Linked DNA regions of Homo sapiens: region 1 is linked to region 2. Evidence: promoter capture Hi-C in 16 types of primary human blood cells and fetal thymus (Javierre and others, 2016). All regions are on one chromosome and are shown on one strand. Each heading gives the region's core, a stretch centred on a gene start or on the middle of the fragment in contact. The rest is flanking DNA. Distances are from core to core; before and after follow the strand shown. Region 1 has its middle 37 kb from the start of SIRT5. Region 2 holds the start of GFOD1-AS1 (GFOD1 antisense RNA 1).

The links. Contacts are between HindIII fragments. The CHiCAGO score rates a contact against its expected background, and 5 or more counts as called.
Region 1: a fragment that was not itself captured here is called in contact with the fragment with the promoter of GFOD1-AS1 in region 2 in 3 of 17 cell types (endothelial precursors, megakaryocytes and total B cells); the score reaches 7.1 in endothelial precursors.

What each region holds. Positions count from the first base shown.
Region 1 is chr6:13,535,221-13,540,607 of GRCh38, forward strand. No RefSeq gene overlaps it. Among named protein-coding and RNA genes, the nearest start is that of SIRT5, 37 kb to the right of the region's middle. The HindIII fragment of the contact is 867 bases long and covers 1,981-2,847 here.
Region 2 is chr6:13,482,527-13,488,687 of GRCh38, forward strand. It overlaps GFOD1-AS1 (GFOD1 antisense RNA 1), which reads left to right and starts at 3,735. Exons shown (of 2, transcript NR_046709.1): 1 at 3,735-3,927; 2 at 4,155-4,245. GFOD1 (Gfo/Idh/MocA-like oxidoreductase domain containing 1) reads right to left here and starts at 5,074. Exons shown (of 2, transcript NM_018988.4): 1 at 4,112-5,074. The coding sequence starts at 4,364. RefSeq lists enhancers at 1,621-1,690, 4,326-4,435, 5,996-6,125 and silencers at 4,262-4,425, 4,566-5,045, 5,066-5,445, 5,826-5,935. The HindIII fragment of the contact is 1,067 bases long and covers 2,946-4,012 here.

The DNA of each region.
Region 1 (5,387 bases), core at 1,164-3,663, 51 kb after region 2:
CTCTGCCCAGCCTATTTAAGGCACTTCAAAAATTAAATCTTTTCCTGAAAAGGTGAATTTTCAGTAAAGAACCAAATAAACTTTCAAATTGTATTATCTGAACATTATTGTTACGGCAGCTGGAATTCTTGATAAAAATTCCAGGAAACCTAGTTGTGAGGAGAAATGAATACTGCACATTGGGAGATAACCTGGATCACTGTGAATCACTCTGGACTTTAAAAAAAAAAAATCCTGATGATCCATCACATTCCAGGCCATTTATATGCAAGCCAGTTGGCTCAGCATCTCTGGGGGAGGACCTGGGCATCAGTACTTATTTCCTAAAACTCCCAGGTGTCTTCAGTGAGCAGGTGGCAACCAAGCTGAATATAGAATCACCTGGAGATTTTTTTACACTACTGACATCTGCCTGCACACCCCCAGCCCACCCCCTGCCCCCGCCGCCCCTGCACACACCACACCAGAGATTCTGATCCAGTTGATCTGAACAGGGACCTGGCTTTTCTTTTTTTTCTTTTTTCTTTTTTTTTTTTTTTTTTTAAGACAGAGTCTCACTCTGTCACCCCAGCTGGAGTGCGGTGGCCCAATCACAGCTCACTGCAGCCTTGACTTCCCTGGATTCAGGCGATCCTCCCACCTCAGTCTCCTGAGGAGCTGGGACCACAGGCGTGCACCACCACATCCGGCTAATTTTTGTATTTTTTGTAGAGATGGAGTTTCATCATGTTGCCCAGGCTGGCTTTGATCTCCTGGGCTCAAGCGATCTGCTTGCCTTGGATGGGCATTGTTTAAGGTGCTGGCTGAGGAGTCAGGGTTGAGGTTTTCTGGCCTAAAGCGACCTCTCTAATAAATCAGTCCAGGCCAATGAACCACCTCTGGATCTTGCCTTTCCCACATTCTCCAATCTTTTGGCAGCCAGCAATGACATGGTGAGGTGAGACTCTACTTTTTCCCTTTCTAATTTGCAAATGAATTAAACCCATCACCACCTTGAGCTGTTAACCATTTTTACCTTGGTGCAAATTACCTGTGGGGCAGCAGCCCTTTGGGAATTTATCCCAGTTGATTGTTAGCTGGTATCAGAAATGTATCAACCCAATTCCTTCCTCTGAATCATTCCCTCCCTTCTTGGAATCCACAGAACTTTCTCATTGGCTCATACGCAGTTCACCTGTGGTATAGTTAGCTAAGGGTGCAGTGGGAGAGTGGCCTTGAACAAACCAGGTATGTGGCAATCCCCAAAAGTGGTTGGTTGTAAGGACGAATGAAGGGAAAGATACCGTTGTGAGTGGAGGTGCAAGAATATGAAGAAGTTTGCACCCTGTGCAGTAATAGGAATTGTGTATCAATCACTTGAGCCTTTAGAGAAGTTAAGTTGCTTGCCCAAGGCCCACAAGGTAGATGACCACATCTGGATTCAAATCCAGGTATCTATGAATCCACTGTTTGTTCATTTTTCTCTGAGTCGCATTGGCATCTTGTAGAAATAGGCCCTAAATCATATATTTGAAACCCCTGGGGCTAGAGTGGCTTGGAATTTAGAACATTTTGGATTTTAGAAGGGTAAATACATTAATATCTGTACTACAAAACATATAAAATTTATCCCAAATGGTATTTAAAAAAAAAAGCCTCCCATCAGCCTCCTGTCAATTCAGAACAGATCGTACCAGCAAGTTTGGGGTTTGCAGAGCTTTTTTTGGATTTGGGAAATGCAGATAAGAGATTGTGAACATGAGCATCAAAGAAAACAATTGCACATAGTGGCAAACATCTACTGGACGGTGAATGTTTGCCAGGCTTTCTGCCAAGCTCTGTACATGTGCGGCCCTCGCAACCAGCTTGCAAGGTAAGTGCTATTGATTACTATCCCCATTCTAAAAATCAGGAAACTGAGGCATGGATGGGCTAAATAACTTGTTTGAAGTCATATGACTAATAAATCCACTCATTTGTTCCATCTCCATTGAAGTTGAAAGCTTATAGTTGAAAAATTTTGTAGAATCATCCACTCTAGAGAAAACCTTTTTTTCTTATTGAATGATTAAAATATTTCCAGAATGACTGGCTGGCACTGCACTCTGATTTCAAAGTCTTTGCTTTACAGCTTTAAATTTGCCTTCTCTTTTTATTGCCTGTCTTGTTTTAACAGCAGCCAATTCACACAAAACAGCTGTAGGTTGTCTCCTTTGCACACTGATAAAAGTCTCAGGAGGTTTCAGGGGAAACCTTGTGCAAAGGACTGGCTCCATCAAAATGAGACCCACTTCCAATAAAGCAGGATACAATGTGGATTTCTATTAAAACAGTGTTATAAAATTAAAGTTGGATGATTGAGGAAGGCTTTTGCTTAGTAATGAGACTCTGTGGGGATGCAGAAGTTGGCCATAAACAGTGTGTTTTGTGGGGATGCAGAAGTTGGCCATAAACAGTGTGTTTTGTCTTCTGCATAACTCGGTTTCCTCTGTTCTGATAACCTGTACCTTCCCAAAGCAATCTAATAAAATTTACAGGAGTGGTTTCCTACTACTGTGCCAAACATTGTTTAGAATGCACTTTAAATACTCTCAAAGATTTAAAAGAAAAGCATCGATGTTCTAATAATTATGAAAACACATCCTCAGAATCCATATAACCATTCAAAAATCAAGGAGAACAATGTCCTTTGTTTAGTTAACCTTTCACCTTTTTTGCCTCATTAGAACTTAAAACTATTAGGCATAATATGCCTAATATAAAACATATATAACCCCAGTGACATGCATTTATTTTGTGATTAGCTGAATTTTTTATTATTTCAGAATATTAGAATATTGTTGTTTTTTTCACAAATATGTTCTTTAAAGCTTTGTTGTTATCTTAAGAGTGATTTTATTAAGCCTGTGTAAAGAGAATGTCCAGATAATGAAATCCAATAGGAAGAAGGGTGTGTCTATAGGAATTGAGTGTAAAAGCGGCTTTGAACCAATTTATTCTTAAATAAATAAGTGTCCTTATGCTGGGTTGGCTTGCCCTACAACATGGGCTGCTTTCTTCTTCACAAAGCTCCCCCTGCTGTTTAATAAAGTCTAACTTTCCCCAATTCTTTCTGAACCTGAAGTGCTTCTAATGATCCTACAAAGTTATCTACTGATGCCTCACATTTTATTACCAAAGCTAGAGCATTTGGCCAAATTTTGCAAAATGTTGAGAACGCAGTAATTCTTTAACAAATGCTTGTTGAATGAATTAGGATATTCCTGTCAACCTCACACCATAAGCCCGGCAACCAAGACAGAAAGAGGTGATGTAGCTCTCAGCTTTCACCTACTGTCCATATGACCTTGGGCAAGTCACGGCACTTCGTTCATTTATTTATTTATTCAACATTTATTGATTGTTAATCCATACCAGGCACCATGCCAAGTGCTAGGGACACAATGGTGGGCAGATAGGTGTGCTTTCTACCCTCACAGACCTTCTGAATCAAGGGGCTCTCAAACCTCGGTGTGTGTCAGATTCACTCAGAGGCCTTGATAAAATACACATGGCTGGGCCCCTCCTCCAGAGTATCTGATTCAGTGGGCTGGGGTGGGGGTCTGAGAATTTGCATGTCTAACAAGTTCCCAAGTGAGGGTGATACTGCTGGTCTGTGGGCCACACTTTGAGAACCGCTGGCTTTAAGAGGAACAGTCACAATAGTATGATAAATGCTGTGATGAGTCCTGGGTGAAACAGGGACACAGAGCAGAGGATTAATCTAGTCTATCGGGATAAAGAAAGTTTTCCCAGACACATGCGTTTAATCAATCCTAAGACCTTAACATCTCAGGCATTGGGATACAAGAAACACTGATCCTTCCTTTTTACACTTTAACATCTGCAAGATCACAATGCATTTGATGAAATACTGTAACAACATTTAAGCAGAAAGGGTAATCAAGACAATGTGGTGCTGGCACACGGAAACATGCATAAATCAATGGAATAGAATAGAGTCCAGAAGTAAATCCATATACCCATGGTTAATTGATTTTTGACAAGGGTGCTGAGATCGTTCAATGGGAAAAGGGCAGTCTTTTCAACAAATGGTGTGGAGATAACAGGATAGCTACATGCAAAAGAATGGAGTTGGATCCTCTACCCAAACCATCTCCAAAAAATTAACTCAAAATGGGTCGAAGACCTAAATGTAAGAGCAAGAGCTATAAAACCCTTGGAAGAAAATAGAGGTAGATCTTCATGACCTTAGATGTGGCAAAAGATTCTTAGATATGACAACAAAATCATGAAAAACAAAAGAAAAAAATAGATAAATTACATTTCATCAAAATTAAAAGCTTTTATGTTTCAAAGGACACCACCAGTAAAGTGAAAAGATAACCCACAGAATGGGAGAAAATGTTTGCAAATCATACATCTGATAAGGGACTTGCATCTAGGATATTTAAAGAACTCTTATGAAGACAATCCAATCAGAAATGGGTAAAATATCTGAATACACTCTTCCTCAAAGAAGATATACAAGTGGCCAAAAAGCACATGACAAAATGCTCAGCATCACTAGACACCAAGGAAATGCAAATCAAAACCACGATAATACTTCACACACACTAGGATGATTATGATTTTTAAAATGGCAGACAATAACAAGTGTTAGCAAGATGTAGAGAAATTAGACATTTGCACACTGCTGGTAGGAATGTAAAATGGTGCAGCTGCTTTAGAAAACAGATGGTAGTTCCTCAACCAATTAAACAAGAGTTACTATATGACCCAGCAATTCCACTTCTAGATATATATCTAAGAGAAATAAAACCATCTGTCCACACAGAAACTTGTACAAGAATGTTTACAGGGCCGGGTGCAGTGGCTCATGCCTGTAGTCCCAGCACTTTGGGAGGCCGAGGCAGGTGGATCACCTGAGGTCAAGGGTTCAAGACCAGCCTGGCTAACACGATGAAACCCCGTCTCTACTAAAAATACAAAAATTAGCCGGGCATGGTGGCGGGCGCCTGTAATTCCAGCTACTCAGGAGGCTGAGGCAGGAGAATTGCCTGAACCTAGGAGGCGGAGGTTGCAGTGAGCCGAGATCATGCCACTGCACTCCAGCATGGGCTACAAGGTGAAATTCCATCTCACAAAAAGAATGTTTACAGCAGCATTATTTGTAATAGCCAAAAGATGAAAACAACCCAATTGTCCAGGGTTACACATGGACAAATGGAGAACCAAAATGAGGCATGGAATATCATTCCACTATAAAAAGGAATAAAATGTCGATACATGCTTCAACAAGGATGAACCTTAAAAATATTATGCCAAGTGAAAGAAGCCTGTCACAAAAGACCACATACTATAAGATTTAATCTGCATGAATATCCTAAACAGGGAAAGTTATAGAG
Region 2 (6,161 bases), core at 2,485-4,984:
ACCTGAGGTCAAGAGTTTGAGACCAGCCTGGCCAACATAGGGAAACCCCATCTCTACTAAAAAATACAAAAATCAGCTGGGTGTGGTGGCACACACCTATAATCCCAGCTACTCAGGAGGCTGAAGCAGGAGAATCACTTGAACCCAGGAGGTGGAGGTTGCAGTGAGCCAAGATCGCACCATTGCACCCCAGCCTGGGCAACAGAGCGAGGCTCCGTCTCAAAAAATAAAATAAAATTAGATTAAATTAAATTAAATTCCCATACATATACTTGCCAGGATATACCTTGAAAAATATATATTATTTTTAATACTTTCACATTCAGAGTTTCACATATTTGTGTATCTCTATGTAAAATATATGCATATATTTTATGTTATATATACATCTATATATTAGTGTATATGTAAAATATATGTATATATTATGTGTTATATATACATATATATATGGCCTTGAATGGGAGACATAAACAACTGGTAATAATGATTGCCTCCTGTCCAAAGACAGGGACTAGGGGACATTCAGTCTTCACTGTGTACTTTTATAGCATTTGAAATTTGTACCACATGAATATATAGCCAATTCAAAATAACTAAATAAAATTTAAATGTTAAATGAATGCCTTAAAATAGGTGCTAGGCAAGATGGGGGCACACAGTGCTGAGACAACAGAAGGGTATGTAGGGTGGGGGGTTTGAGGGAGAGGAAGCGGTAACACTTGGGCTGAGTATTGAAGGGCGAACATGGAAGGAGACCTCAAGGGACAAGGAAGTTCCTGACAGAGACCTGGACATGTGCGCCAACAGGGCCCATTCAAGGAAACCCCAGCAGGGTGGGCTCGCTGAAGCCCTTGGGTTCGGGAATGGCCACCAGGACGTGAGGCTGGGCTCACTTCTTCAGGATGTGAGGCTGGGCATGTCACGCCAATCAGCTGGGGCTTTTCCTGAAAGGGGAAACGATGACATGACCAGGTCTCTAGCACTGCCAGATACTCCATACCTGGCAGCAGTGTAGATAGTGGCTAGAGGCAGGGTTGGGTGGGGTGGACTGGAACCTAGTTCAGAAACTACGAAAGGACCTGACTTCTATGGGGAACAGACACAGAGAGTTTCAGATGGCATCAAACAGGTTTGGGAACCGATTCCAGGGCTGGGATGGAATAAAGGACAACTCCAACAGTCTGACCTGGGCTGCCATGATCTATGGCAGAGGAACAGGTACAGCTGATGGAAGAGGAAGAAATGACTCCGGGGGAGGTAGAGTGCTGGGTTCAAATCTCTAGCTGTAGGTCTAGGAGCAAAGTGACTCAGGTCTCTGAATCTCAGTTGCTTCATTTGTGAAATGGAGCTAATATCTATCTTAGAGGATTATTTTAGTCATGAAATGAAATGCTTTATACACAGCACTTACCATGCTGCCTGGCATACAGTATGTACTTAATAAGAGGCAGCCTTGGACAGTGTAGAAAGTACACTTGGTAGAAATGCCTCTACAACAGAGGAATGCCTCATTCACAAAGGTAGGGATTTTGAGGAAATTTTTAAAAATTAAAGGAGGATGTGTGTGATTCAATTGATCTGAAGTTTCATTTCACTGTGGTCCCTAGACCACACTTTGTAGGGTCCCTACAAAGTAGGGTCCCTAGCCCCTTACTTTGACAGGCCTGTGACCAGTTATGAGTGTGGATCGAAGGCTACAGACCTGTCACCCTCACTGGGCAAGCAATTCAAAGTCCAGGCCTTTGCTAAAAGGACAATTTACCAGGATGAGTCAAAGTAGCTAGTTTCAATTCCAGGCAAACACTCGTATCTATACACTCCCAACAGCCAGATCAGCCTGATAACTGTTTGGGGTTTTTCACTTCCTACGTTCTATGTGTTGAACCTTCAACAGTGACTGTAAAGCAAACCAAGACGACCACCCCACTGTGCACTCGCAGGGGCACCCTGCAAAAGAAGGAGTTAAAAAAAGAAAGAAGAAAGAAGCTCAAAACCTACCCTAAAAACATGAACAAAACCCTATTCTGTCATCACCATTACTAAACTAGGTCTATTATGCCTCTTATCGCTGGTTTTGAAGAGGTAACAGACATGTCTTGTTAATTAAAGTCACAGGGATATTTGAAAAATAAGAACAGAAGAAGTATCCAGAAATGTCTAATTTGTGTCACATCTCTTGAAACCAGAGCCCCCAGACACTTTCATGGCCATGGTCCCAGAGACAGCCAGAAAACAAGGTCATCCTTGTTCCCCAAATTGCCACCCTCCTGCTCTAGGTTTGCTCTGTGGGTCTGAACCCAGGACAGGAACTGCCATCTTTATGGTGGAGAAACGATGTTAACAACATGGTCTTTCAGATATGACCAGTCCTAAGCTCTCCAGTATACGCAGGGCTCATCAGGGACCAGTTTTGTACAAATTGCACTAATAGAATTATACCATAAGATCGTTATAAGATATTTGATATGCAAAGAGCCAATGTAAACAAGGGAGTTATCCACCCAACATACATGTTCCATTAAACAGAAAATAAATATTAGCATTCAGTTCAATGGCATTCAGTTCAAGGCCAAAGAAACAGGCCACAAAGGGCAGACACTTAATAAAATTAACTGACAATTAAAACTGACAATGTGGGCAGCCTCCTTAGGAATTCTATCAGATGTTGCATCTGAGTCAATAGCCAAATGGCCTGATGAAAATGCCTTTCTATGGAGAAAGAGTTTTACATTCTGTTCATAGCTCTTCGAAGACAGAATTAAAACACACGTATATTTCACCTACCCTGAATCCATACCTATTTTTAACAAATAAAACAGTCTTTCCAAGACTACATAACTTCCGGCTGGTTTCTGGATGTTGTCTCTGTTCCTTCGCAGCTCCTCCCTTCTAATCTGTTCTACTATTCGCTTCATCTGGTTATAAGCTTTGTTCTTGTTATAAGCTTTGTGTTTTTCCTCACCAATAGAAACTTCAGCTTTCAAAGGTGAGCTGCTCATTTTCTTGGAATTGTAAGATCAAGCAACCTTCCTGGGATTGTTTTAGGTTACGTGCAAGAACTGATGATGAACAAAACATGCCCTTCTCTTTCCCCTGAGCATAGGCTGAGAGGCTGCTACTCTGTCCTCAGAGATTGTTCAGACTGCCTGGGAGTTGAGGGGAGCAGGGACCAGATGGTGAGGCACCCTGAACTCATCTCCAGCCCACGGGTCAACACTGTGCCTTCCGAAACTATTCCTGAAGGCGATTAGGGAGGGCCTTTTCTCATGCAAAGCATCCATGCCTCTGGAGCTACTGCGCCCATCCTCCTAAAAATTTAAAATCTATTACTCCAAATTGGGGCAGAAGACATTTCCCGGGAGGCTGCAGTCAAAAGTTAAAACCCCCTGGTTTTACCAAATCAGTCTTTACTAACCTATGACGCCTCTGAAAACATTCTAATACATCATCACCCCCATCCAACCACTCCCACCGTCCTTGCCTCCAGCGCAGACGAAATAATTCCAGCCGATGGTAACATCTGCAATCTCACGCTAAACTAACTCACAGCAGAAAGAAACAAACGACCCTAGCAGGGCGCCACCGCTGCTGAAGGGCAGGTCCTCTATCGCACCCAAGAAAACCCGACACACGTGTGCGGCCTTTTATTCAGGCGTTTCTGGGCGCGCACTCGCCTCTCCCAGGCGCGCGCGCGCACAACCCTCCTCCACCCCCCCATCCCCCCCCCCCACACACACACACTTGGACACTACACACACAGCTGAGGAGTAACTTTCCTCTTCTCGCGGAGCACCCTATCCCCTATTATCGGCATCTGATCTTCCTAGTTCGGATCCCCGGAACACACGCCTTCTCCAGCCTGCAATCTACACACGTGGGGAAGCGCGTCCAAGTGGTGCCAGGAGGCAGGAGGGAAGCGCAAAGGTGGGGAAGGCCGGGGACGAGGAAGGAGGGAGCTCTGAGTCGGATCTGGGATCTCAGATCCCCGGGGCAGCGTAGATGCAGGGTAAGCTTCTGGGATGCGGAGAGGGAAAGGCAGGGGGGAAGGAACCTAGAGAAGGTTAAAGGGCGGGGGTGGGACGGAGGATGCGGGGTAGGGGTCGCTCACCTAGGGTTTTGACAGCGATCTGTCTGGTGAGGGGCGGCGGCAGGTTAATGCACACCAAGTCCACGTCCTGATGCAGCAGCACCTCATCAATGCGGCTAGTGTAGAAGGGGACACTCATCTCCTTGGCCAGCTCCTCCGCTTCTTCCTGCGTGCGGCCCCACAGCGCCTTCACCGCGAAGCCCTCGTCTTTCAGCAGCGGGATGATGACACGGGCCGTGAGGCTGGTGCCGAACACGCCCACCCCGGGAAGCATGGCTGCTCAGAGCCGCCTGGTTCTGCTTCTGCTCGGATCTCCAGTCCAACGCGCGCACACACCCACCTCTAGCCAGTCCTGCACCCCGCTCCTGTAGCCAATCTAGCCGCGGTGCGCCAGCCGCCGTGCACCGGGCAAGGCGCCCGGGTGCCCAGAGCGCACCGAGCTGCAGGCGGAGCAAGCTCGGGGCGCCTCAGAACGGTGACTGCGGCAGTGTCCGCCACGCGGGGCTCGCGTCCTTCCCGGAGTCGGCGGCAGGGACCCCCCCAGGGCGCCGGAGGCTTCGAAGCCCCCTGGAGCCCCGGCTCAGGCTGCGCTCCCGCGGCAGCGCCAGTCCGCTGCGTGCGCCCCGCCAAGGCCGCTCCATGGCCGGCTCATCCCCGCGGCCGCGCCGCCGCAGCCCGGGACCGGCTCTCTCCCGCGTCGTTTGCGCAGCCGGCGAATCGCACAGACAAACGTCTACACCCTGCCAGAGCACGGAACCGCTCCGCGGGGGAGTCTCCTTTCTTCCTAGCTCTCCGTTGGGAATGAAATAATCCCGCGGCCGCCAGGAGGCCGGCTAAGGATGCGGCCCGGAGCGCGCCGGACTGGGATCCCGAGCTGCAGCGCGGCAGCGGCGGCCACGACCCGGCGCCAGCCTCCTCATTCTGCTGCCATGTTCGCTCGCCTCGCGGCTCGGGCGGCCTCGGCCCCAGGCCGGCTCAGGCTCTGGGATCCCGCGGGGACGAGGGCGGAGTTGGCGAGTTTGGCTGTCAGCGGCCGGTGTTCCTGCACCGCCCTCGCTGCAGCGCCGCGCGCCATTGGCCGCCGCGCGCCGCCCCCGCCCCCGCCGCCGCCAGCTCCGGGTGCGCGCTGCGCCCGGGCCCCGGGAGCCCAGCCCGGCTCCTCCCCGGCCCCGCCCAGGCCGCCTCGCCCGCCTCCTGCCCCTCCGCTTCTTCCCTTTCTTTGCCCTCACCATCTCCTTCTCTTCCCTGCTTCACTCCAAACCCCGCCCCAACCAAGCAAATACATCTATCTAGGCAGGACGCGCCCTAATAGGTTAGTCGCCTGTCCCTTGGAAGAGAGCAGTGGGCGCCTTGGCCTGGGGTAGGTGAGGGGACCCGGCGAGGTGCGAACAGCCGATAATAATAACCTCGGCTCCCGGAGCGTTTCTTGCGTGCTGAGCATCATACTAACGCCTTTCCAGGTATTGTCCCTTTTAGTCCTCGCAGCAACCTAAGGTTATTGTAAACCCATTTTACCAGTGATGTGAATGAGCCGCAATGAAGGCTAAGGGACTTGCGCAAGGTGACATATATAAGCAACAGGCCTGCGATTGGAATCCAGGCCCCAGAGTCTGGGCACGGAACCGCAGACTTCTACGGTCTCCTTCCAAGCTAGCCTGCTCCAATCGCGCGCCCCCGCTCCGGCCGCGCACGCACGGTTCAGCCGCCTTCTTCCAAGACAGTCCAGTCTTGGCGGGCTCCCATCTGCCTCCCACCTCCCCCGCCCCTAGGCCCATGCCCGCCCCCGCGTAGACGCTGTGGTGTGTACGGCCGCAGCGGGGCAGGGGGTCTCCGAGGCCGCTGCGGCACGTGCGTCTCGTGTCTAGTTTCGAGACGGATACGTCGCCCTGGCCACATGCCACGCCCGCCTCTTGCTTCGGCTCCTGTTGCCGTCGCCACTTACCGCAGCCTTTACTTCTCCCAGCTTGCCCCCACCTCCACCACCCTGCACCCTTCCCAGGCCCTCGAGGGGGCACTGAGGAGGACTGGCCAAGGCTGGCCCCGCACCTCTGGAGCCATGGGGACTCTGCGT